Linked DNA regions of Homo sapiens: region 2 is linked to region 1. The links are contacts of gene promoters, found by promoter capture Hi-C in blood cells and fetal thymus (Javierre and others, 2016). All regions are on one chromosome and are shown on one strand. The core of a region is centred on a gene start or on the middle of the fragment in contact, and the rest is flanking DNA. Distances in the headings are between cores, read along the strand shown. Region 1 overlaps GDF11 (growth differentiation factor 11). Region 2 holds the start of CTDSP2 (CTD small phosphatase 2).

Region 1 (5,003 bases), core at 775-3,274:
GGAAGGAAAGGAACAGAGAAGTGAAGAACAGATACCTCCCTCCAAGGTCAAATGCCTCGTGATCTTGGCAGAGTAGGGATTGGGCAATAAGCATCAGGTATCTTCCCTCTACAGATTCTAGAGAGCTGGGGCATTAAATATGGGGGACACTTAGAATACAGCTCCTTAAATACCACCAAATAAAGACCTTTGTGTGTGTGTGGTGGGTGGGGGGGGGGCAGGGGTCTTTCTCTTATGAACATAAATCTGTGAGCTGAAGTCTCATTCCCCTGTTCCTCCCTACCCCCAAAGAGGCACAGAGTGAAGGGACTTGGGGGGCACAGCTCAGCAACCCAGTGGGAGTTAGCACCCCCTCCCACCTTATGATGTGTGTGGACCTGGCCAGTGCCCCTCTGAACATATCATTATTAGTGTAATTATCATTTATTTTGTGTATTTGTCACATTGTGTGCATGACAGCCTTTGTTAAGGGTGTCTGAGGAGTATGGAGCTGACAGGGGCATTGGAATGCCAGGAAAGAACTTCTTCAACTGAGATCAAGGCTTCCTGGAGGGAACCACTGCAAAAAGGCCATCAGGCAGTTTTCAAGTTATGTGACAGAGGGCAAAGACGGCCATAGGGTGCTCTGAGTTTTGGGATGGTCACATGACACAATCCAGCACTTGAACCTGAAAAAAAAAATAAAAGCGGTCAAAGAGTTTAGAATTCAGTGCTGAGCTCTTCTCCCTAATCAAGTGCCACATTTACACCTTGGAGAACCGGAGGTGAAGAGGATCTGAGACAGGAAACCTCGTGTTCAATGACTAAGAAGATGGGGTCCTGGAGCAAGACAGAAAACACTAAGGGCATGGTGGTATAAGGTTTGGGACATGCAGGCCAAGGAAGGATGGAAAGAGGACAGGAAACTGGGGGTACCTAGAACAACCCCTCTCTGAAAAGCTTGAGCCAAAACAGTCCCAAAGACAACAAGACCCCTCTCCCAGCCTCCACAGAATGGAAGATCTAAAGGTTCTCTTGAGATGATCCAGCTAGTATGGAAGATCTAAAGGTTCTCTTGAGATGATCCAGCTAGTGTCCTATTCTCCTGCAGTCCCTGTTCCTAGGTTTCCTCAACGAAGTTTGACAAAAATCTAAACCAACATAGCCAACGAACTTGCCTTGTTACACAAGAGTGGCTAAAATAGCATCTCAAATATTCTTTCAGTTCACTGTAAAAATTTTTCCCATGTACCTAGAGCACAATTCCCCAGGAATATGAGTTGGGAATGGCAAAAGAATATTGCCTGACTCACATTTTTCAAAAATAAGGAAAGCTGGCTGGGCGCAGTGGCTTACATCTGTAATCCCAGCACTTTGGGGGGCCGAGGCGGGCGGATCATGCAAGGTCCGGAGTTCGAGACCATGCTGGCCAACATTGTGAAACCTCATCTCTACTAAAATACCCAAAATTAGCCGGGCGTGGTGGCGTGCGCCTGTAATCCCAGCTACATGGAAGGCTGAGGCAGAAGAATCGCTTGAACCCAGGTGGCGGAGGTTGCAGTGAGCTGAGATCGCACCACTGCACTCTAGCATGGTGACAGAGTGAGACTCCCATCTCCAAAAAAAAAAAAAAAAAAAAAAAAAGGAAAGCAGGACCCAGTGGTGTGCTCCTGTAGTTCCAGCTATTCAGGAGGCTGTGGCAGGAGGACCACTTGAGGCCAGAGGGTCAAGGCTGCAGTGTGCTATAATTGGGCCTGTAAATAGCCACTGTACTCCAAGCTGAGCAACACAGTAAGACACTGTCTCTAAAAATAATTAAAGTAAAATAAAAATAAGGAAAGCTCCTGTGACATCAACCTGATCCAGAATTGGGGACAGCGCTACTGCGGGTTCAATGTACTGCCATGTTTTCCCTGTCTTATCAGTTCTATCAGCACACTGACCCCACTCGAGACCAACTACAAGACTAAGGCTGGAAGTGGTTGAGTAGCAGAAGTGTTATGTATTCTATCTTCCCAAGGGAACCATATCCACATCTACCCCTAACTTTGGCCTGAGCTGAAAATGGGTTTTCTCTCCCTGTGGCTCATTTGTTTCCTATATTGAGAGAACACCCAAAAAAAGACTACTCAAGATGACTTTTTACAAGTCTTTTCTTTATCCTAAAACATCCTCCAACCGAAGGCATGGGAAGCTATCCTATACTCTGACCTTGCCTATATTTTAAATGGCAGGGGCCCCAAGCTAAGAATCAGCAGGCAGTGGCATCTACAGCTTCTGGTCTGTAGTGGCGTAGAAGCAGGAAAATCAATGCTCCAAAGCAACAATGTCCAGCTTTCCTGCCAGTGAGCTGGGCTTGAGGGAGTGAATGGGACTCTTTCTGCCTTTTCTTTTTCTCAAAATACGACTGCATTAACTGGGTGTATGCACACACAAACATGTTCAAACTAGGGCACTCATACCTAGCTAGAACCTACTCAGGGAAAGAAATATGTATTTCCACAGTACCCTGATCACCCAGTAAAAGCTAATATTTATTGAATAATTACTATGCAAATTATGGTAAGCAAATTGTAGTGTGAATACATGATATGAGAATATCACTTAATTCACACAGCAACCTTCACAATGGGGTTCCTTTTGGTACAGTCTGAAAAGAGAATGATTATCTGCGCAGGGTCTCAGAGCTAGTGTGGTAGAATAAGAAATTAAACCTAAGTAGTTGCTAAACAATATTACATTCTAATCTATCCTATTGAAAGTGATCCGGGAGGTAGAAACCTAAATACAGGAATAACATAAGGGAAAGAGATAACAAGAAAGTTAGGGACACCTTGGACTCAAAGAATCTGGAAAGATGTGAAACCTGTAATTTTAAATCCCTTTGGAAGGGAAAAACAAGAAAAGTCTAGATATGGCAAGAGAAGGGGAGGTTAAATTTTGGGGGGATTCCAATAATCAGAAATAAGTGGCATTGCCAGAGGCCCTCATATAAGAGAACAGCAAAAAAGTTATCCTCCCTTAAGTTCCTCCCTCACTCCTCATATCAGACACAGCAAGAGAACTCAGCTCAACACCAAGAAGTCCTGCCCTTATTCACACCTTCCTTCCTATAGCCCTCATCCTCACAGAAGCTTCTAGCCTCTATCTTCAGCAGTTCTTAAGAGGTGGGGTGGGGGGCTGGGCAGTTTAGAGTGAGAGTGGAAAAAAAGAATAATCCTAGAGAACCATAAAAAAGTACAGATTTACAGCTGAGGAAGCTAGTTCTCCCCACAGCTTTTATAGACTCCCTCATTAAGAGCTTCCAGGTATGCAGAGAATGTCACAGCTTCAGGAATTGGAATCAGTTAACCACATCTGGATGCTGGATCAACTATAGTAGGGAAACGGGGAGAGGAAGGAAGGGTACTAAGATCTCAGGTAAACAATTACAAGCCTCAATGTCTGTTCCATCTCCAAACGGAATTACTATTTTAAAACTGAATTGGGAAAAAGGCATCCTGAACTATTCATGCTCAAAGAGTATGTGGAGAATGACTATAATGAGATAGGAAGGGGAGGACTTCATCTGGCTTGGAGGTTAGAGACTTCTGACCAACATAGGAACAGCTGCTGAAATGGGATGAAAGAGGTTAATAAGAAAAAAAAAAAAATCCTCACAAATTGGAAAACACTGTTCAAAGATCTAGGGGAAGTAAGATGAGTGAGGAGAATAATTAGGCTTCAAGAAGAGAATCCTGGCAAGTAAGGCTGAATATCTTTCTGGAAGGTTATAGAGGATAAAGAGACGAAGAAAACTTCCAAAAGATCCACTGTTCCACTTCATAATCAGCATCTGCTCTATTCCCTCATGTATTTTTCTCTTTTTAAAACCATATTCAGGAAGAAACCATTAGTGAATCTATAATCTCTCAAGTTACAAATCAGATCTATTCTGTTTTCAGATGAAGGCAGAGTAGAGAGAGGAAAAGCTAGCCCCAAGATCAGAGCCTGAGGTAAAGAAAAGGAAGGCAGACAGAAAAGAGGGAAAAGGGAAGGTCATTCCAATTTTAAGGTTTATTTGGTTGAAGAGGTGTCAAAAATTTAACCAGCATTCCCTTTTGTTCACTTCTCCAAAGTCTCAGAATGGGGCAAACTTCACAACAAATGGGCAGCAGTTTTTGGATCTGCTCTCCAAGGCACAATTTTTCTAAATTATCTAAACTTTAGGTCCCTGCTTTCCTCACCAACCAGAGACTTTGGAGAAATAAAGAGATATCTTGACATTAGAAAGGTGATCAAACTATTACCATTTCATTAAGCACAAAACCAGGCAGGTTTTAGTAGAAATAAGGATAAAGGATTACACCACAGCAACATGGGACCTGATCATAGTACCAAAGTCTTCAGGTAAGGTGTCAGGCTCCTAAGTCTTATTACCAAAAATAGCTCAAACAAAAACCGAGCTTATATAAAGATTAAGAGGAGAAATTCTGCAATAACATATCCAAAAAGATTAAGCAGGTTTCAGATCTACATGAACTTGAAGCCTCCAGTTCCACTGCTTATGTTCCCAATGATTTAGCTAACAATGCGTAACAGCTCTGACATCCTCTGTCATGCTTTGATTCTGCATACAAAATTTCTTCTGTCTCTGAGGGATATCCAGCCCATCTCCCTTCCTGAACTGACTGACCAACATAGTATCGTATCACATCACCCTTGAAATCAGGGCCCTTTTCCTTTAATGTGGGACCCTGGACTCCATTTTATCCAAGAAAAAGTCTGCATTATTAGCTAATAACAGAAGGCTACTAATCACTGCCCTTGTATTTATATCCTTTGCAACACCTAAAACCTCCCATGTTCTGTTTTATTTCAGTGGGTCACTACAAGCTGCTGGAGCAAAGACTTGGTGGGTGGGTAACTTAACCTCTTCACAGAGGATAAAAAATGCTTGTGAGTATGACAGAAGGGAATAAACAGGCTTAAAGGGTAAACTCAGTCCTTTTCCTTGTCTTCTCTTCTAAGGGATAAAGGTATTA
Region 2 (5,003 bases), core at 1,590-4,089, 2.1 Mb after region 1:
GAATGCAATCAAATTACATGGGGAGGGGCCGGGCGCGGTGGCTCACGCCTGTAATCCCAGCACTTTGGGAGGCCGAAGGGGGCTGATCACCTCAGGAGTCGAGACCAGCCTGGGCAACTGGCGAAACCCCTGTCTCTACTAAAAAATACAAAAAAATTAGCCAAGCGTGATGGCGCGCGCCTGTAATCCCAGCTACTTGGGAGGCTGAGGCAGGAGAATTGCTTGAATTTAGGAGGCGGAGGTTGCAGTGAGCTGAGATTGCGCCACTGCACTCTAGCCTGGGCAACAGAGTAAGACTCCATCTCAATTAAAATAAAAAATTACATGGGGAGGGAGAGACCCAGTGGCTGCTGGCTTAAACCACACACACAAAAAAGGAGAAACATTAACTCCAAGAAAATCCAACACCAGCAACTTAACACTGTCAAGCCAGTTGCTTTGCTTTCTGCTGTTATCTATTCTGTAGCCTGCCATTCACCCTGGTGGATGAAACTTCCAGCTCTGATTTCTAAGATGCCCCGGCGCAGTCCAGCTTTCCCTTACTCCTCGCGTGGCCCCACGATGCCCAAGGCACACTCCCTGCAAGAGAGTCCCTGCAAGAGAGGAAGACCTAGTGGGGAAGCACAGGGCTCCTCCCCCTACTCATCACCACTGCCCCCTCTTGAATCCCCCCACATCTAGGTTTCTTCCCCTCTGGCTAGCTCTTAGGGTCTTTTCCTGGGATAAAAAGGGAGTGGGAAGAGTCAGGAGTGAGCTATAAACACACGCAGGCTCCCTTCCTTTTTCAGCCATCAGCACAGTTGAGCAGCCAGCAGAGGCGGTGAAGTTGCTGCCTGGGTCACAGCCTGGTTAGTGATGCAGCCAGGAGAGCAGAAATCATGGCAACACCGAGGTCAGGGAGGCCGGAGCCTTCTCGGGGGTTGGGATCTGAGTAGGCAAGGCCATCCCTTCTCAGGGCAGGCTTATTTAAAGTCCGGCCAGTGATGCAAGAGGAACACACTGCCTCCCTCCCCCCACCCTTCCCCCCTCCCAGCTCCTCTCGTTCCACTGAGGGAATTTGGGAGAGGCTGACACCACCAACTCAGCGGATTTGCCCCTAGGGAAGTTGGGGGAGCTCCTTGGAACGTGAACCCCAGGAATTAGTGACCTGCTGACTAATGTTGCCAAACGGGGAGACGTGGGGCGCACGAGGCCCCGAAGCTGGCCGCCCACCAGGCTCTAGGCCTCAGTGTGTTCAACTGCAGCACCGGCCCTTCGCGCTCGGTGGAGAAGGGGAGGGAGCGCTCCGGCTTCGGCCCCAGGAGCCAGCTCCCGCCCCAGCCTCCGGGGCCAGGTGGCCCCGGTCGGGGGGCTCTCTAGAGAAACGCCACACTCGTCCTTACACCCCGCGGAAAATCTGCCGCTATTTTGGACACATTCCTCAAGGCCAAAAGAAGAACGTGGCGGAGGGGGAAAGAGTTTCGAGTCTCCCACTGTGACCAAACTAAGAGGTTCCACCCTCGGGCCCCAGCTTTCTCCCGCCCCGGGAGAGGCCTCGGCCTCCGCCTCACCCCCGCGAGGGCCTGCGGGCCCCCTCGCGCCTCCACCTGACGCTCTGGAAGGCGGGGGCCGCCAGCCGCTGCCCACAGAGAACTCGCACTTTTTCGCTGCGCGATTCAGAACCACGCCGGGTCTGATGCCATCCGGCGAATTATGTAACCAGGGACACCGCTCCCGGGCTAAACAAACGCGGCTCTGTGTGTGCAGCGCCGGCCCCGGGGGAGCGCACCGGGCAGGGAGGGGCTCTGGCCGGGCCTCAGGGTCGGGCTTGTTTGCTCAGCGAAACTGGTCAGAGGCAGCCGGGAGGGAGCCCGACGCCGCCAAGGTCCCGGGGCCTGCGCTGAGCCGGGAACCCGCCACGTCTGGTGCGCCAGGGCCCGGGCCCCTCCCCCACCGCGACCGCCCCCGCCTCCAAGAGGTGAACTTGGTCCCAAGTCCCGCCGGACGCCGTCACCGCCAGCTAGCTGCCCGAACGACCTCGGGCTTGGGGGGGCCTGCAAGTGCTGGACTCCAGTCTCGGTTCCGTTCCACCTGGGGCTCCCTCTGTCACCTTCCTAACCCCTCCCCGCGATCCCGGGGCAGCCGCGCGCGGCGGTGAAGGAAAGTGACGACCCCACCCCCAACTCCGGAGGCGGTGGACGCGGAGTGGCCCAGTGCTTCGAGAGCTACCCCTCCGTCTCTCAGCCCCGAGGGGGAGGGGTTGCGGGACAGGGTGACAGCTGCGCCGAAGACGCCCTTTCCGCTCGGGCGCCGGGATCCCCGTGCAACCCCCACGGAGGTCTGAGTGCCAGCCGGGATGCGGGGGCGGATGGACCGGAGGGGTCCAGTCGGGATCGCTGGCTCTAAGCCCTGGAGGTCAAGGGCCGAGACCTGGGTTCGGGGCTGTGCTAGCCCCCTCCGCGCCCGGGGGCGACGCAAAGTTTTGGGAAGTTGCTGCCCCTACCTTGCTTGGTGAGCACCAGGGCGTCTTCCCTCCGCGCCTGGGTGATGATGGAGCCGTGTTCCATCTAACAATCCCGCGGGCCCGGGCTGGCTGGGCGGGAGGACGGGCGGGCGCGCGGGCTGGGCTGGGCTGGGGGGCCTGGGCGGGGGCCCGCTCCGGCTCCCGAGACTCCGACTTCCACAGCTGTTCACATCCCCCCTCTCGTTTCCTCCCCGGACCGGGAAGGGAGGCGGCCTGTACAAAGGGCGGGCGGCCCGGGCAGCGGCTCCCCCGGGTGCCCCCGGCCCCGATCCCCCAGCGGCAGCTCCGGGCTCCTCAGTTTGGGTCCAACATGGAGAATCCGGAGCGAAAACAAGAGGAGGAAATGGGACACGGGGCGGTTTCCAGGCTCCCCCCTCCCCTCCGTACTCCAGATAAACAACCCGCGGCTGCAGCGCCCACCCCCGCGCGCCTCCCGGCTCTCGACTCGGCCTCTTCACGGCCAGCTGGAGCTTCCCGCTGGGGGCTGCGTCCTAGGCCCTGGGACCCTCCATCTGTGAGCGGCCGGGGCTGCGGACAGTCGGGAGCTTTGCTATTTTGTTACGGAAAAAGCGAATCCTCAAGGGGGGTGGGGTGGCGGGCGGGCAGGCTGGCGGGGGAGACTTGAAACCGTTCCGGTGCTCCGATTGGCTCTCTTGGAGAAAAGGGGCGTGGCCCCTCCTTACTATGCGGTGAGAGGACCTAACAACATTCCAGGCGCCACGGCCACGCCCCCGGGCCACTCCCCCCGCGCCAGACTGCGGCCTCCCAGTCTCCTCGGCCACACCCCCTTCCCAACTATTTAAAAGGCCGCTCCGAAGCTCACGTTCTGGTGCTCTGTGCTGGGGTGTTCTTTTCTCGGAGGGCGCACTCGGGGAAGGTGGAAAGGTTTCCCCCTTCAGGGGTGACCAAGACAAGCCGCTAAGCCTAACCTGACTCCAGCAGGGGATGGGGCGGATCGGAAGTTACCTTACCCCCCTGCTTAGCCCTAGAATCAAGGACGTACCAAGTCACATAAAAGTACAACCGTCGAGGCCAGGCGCGGTGGCTCACGCCTGTAATCCCAGCACTTTGGAAGGCCGAGGTGGGTGGATCACGAGGTCAGGAGTTCAAGACCAGCCTGGCCAAGATGGTGAAACCCCGTCTCTACTAAAAATACAAAAAAATTAGCCGGGCGTGGTGGCGGGCGCCTGTAATCCCAGCTACTCGGGAGGCTGAGGCAAAGACTTGCTTGAACCCGGGAGGCGGAGATTGCAGGTAGCCGAGATCGCGCCACTGCACTCCAGCCTGGGCGACAGAGCGAGACTCTGTCTCAAAAAAAAAAAAAAAAAAGTACAACCTTCGAATCCCGAAAGGGGTGTGTGCGTGTGGGCGGACCTAGGACTCCAGAGTATAAGAGCTGGAACTGACCTCGGGACTGTGTCCCCCAAAACACTGAAAATGAGACCTGAGGTGCTGGGCTTTCCTCACACCCACCGACTTACTCCCATTTAGGCGGCCCCGACTCCGCCCCTCCTCCCTACCTCCCTCATCCTACCCCTCTCTTTTTGCCCCCACAGTCCCAGCTTCCTTTAGATGGATGGAGGTCTCTCGGAGGAGCTTCAGCTTTGTGGACTCAGGCTGCCTTCCCCACTTGCTCTTTAGGCCTCGGGGCACGCTCCGCTGGCTACAGCTCCTGGAGTCTCTGCTCAAGGTTGTGGGTGCTTTTGTTCCCCAGCGGTGGTAGCTCCAGAAAGGCTGGTTTCAGCTCAATATCAGGTCTTTTCCAGTGATCTACATCTGTCCACAGGTGACATGGGCTGCCTTGGGACAATGGTAGCTGTTCAAGTCAAGGCCGGCAAGAGTGGTGTAGAGTGAGATTGCACTGGGTGACTTCTGAGCTAAATCCAACCCCAATATTCTGTGATTCAGTGGCACTCACCCTGCCAAGGAAGGGGCTTCCTTCCTGCTGCAGTTCCCATTGCCCAACATGCATCAGGTCTTACTGATGATTAGAGGACAACTAGGTCACAGCTAAGCTTGCCAGGTACTATCAGACACCTGCTTCCTATGGTCCCTTCCTCATGAGGACAGGTGAGGTCATGATCTGCATATGCCTGTGTGCCATACAGTGATCATGTGTGCCTGTTTCTGCTGTTCCTACGCACGTATACAAAACCTTTTTATATAACATCATTTTAATGGAAATGCTGTTTTTCCAAAATGAAAGTGGCTGTTACAGATCTGAATGATGCTTATGTAACTTTAAACACTGAATTTGGGTAGATCTTAATTCATTAACAGAAAGGGAAACGGAGGAGTTCTGACATACCCACCTCCCATCATTAAAACAATAGGATCTTTAAGGTAAATCTTCAATAGTCAGGTTGCTATGGGGGCCTTTTTAGACCCTTCCCCTGCCCTCTTCTAAGGTAGATTAGTTGCAGTGGGAGGAATGCAGGCAGGAGCTGAGGACTGAGGATTTAGAGGGGCCTGCTACCCATAGCACTGTAGGGCAGGACAC

Evidence for each region. Contacts are between HindIII fragments. The CHiCAGO score rates a contact against its expected background, and 5 or more counts as called.
Region 2: the fragment with the promoter of CTDSP2 here is called in contact with a fragment that was not itself captured in region 1 in 1 of 17 cell types (monocytes); the score reaches 5.8 in monocytes.

What each region holds. Positions count from the first base shown.
Region 1 is chr12:55,752,173-55,757,175 of GRCh38, forward strand. It overlaps GDF11 (growth differentiation factor 11), which reads left to right. Exons shown (of 3, transcript NM_005811.5): 3 at 1-5,003. It also overlaps a transcript of SARNP not described here. Among named protein-coding and RNA genes, the nearest start is that of GDF11, 12 kb to the left of the region's middle. The HindIII fragment of the contact is 2,174 bases long and covers 938-3,111 here.
Region 2 is chr12:57,843,890-57,848,892 of GRCh38, forward strand. It overlaps CTDSP2 (CTD small phosphatase 2), which reads right to left and starts at 2,840. Exons shown (of 8, transcript NM_005730.4): 1 at 2,483-2,840. The coding sequence starts at 2,546. RefSeq lists silencers at 1,282-1,331, 1,662-1,961, 2,552-2,981, 2,992-3,071, 3,142-3,321. The HindIII fragment of the contact is 5,566 bases long and covers 1-4,516 here.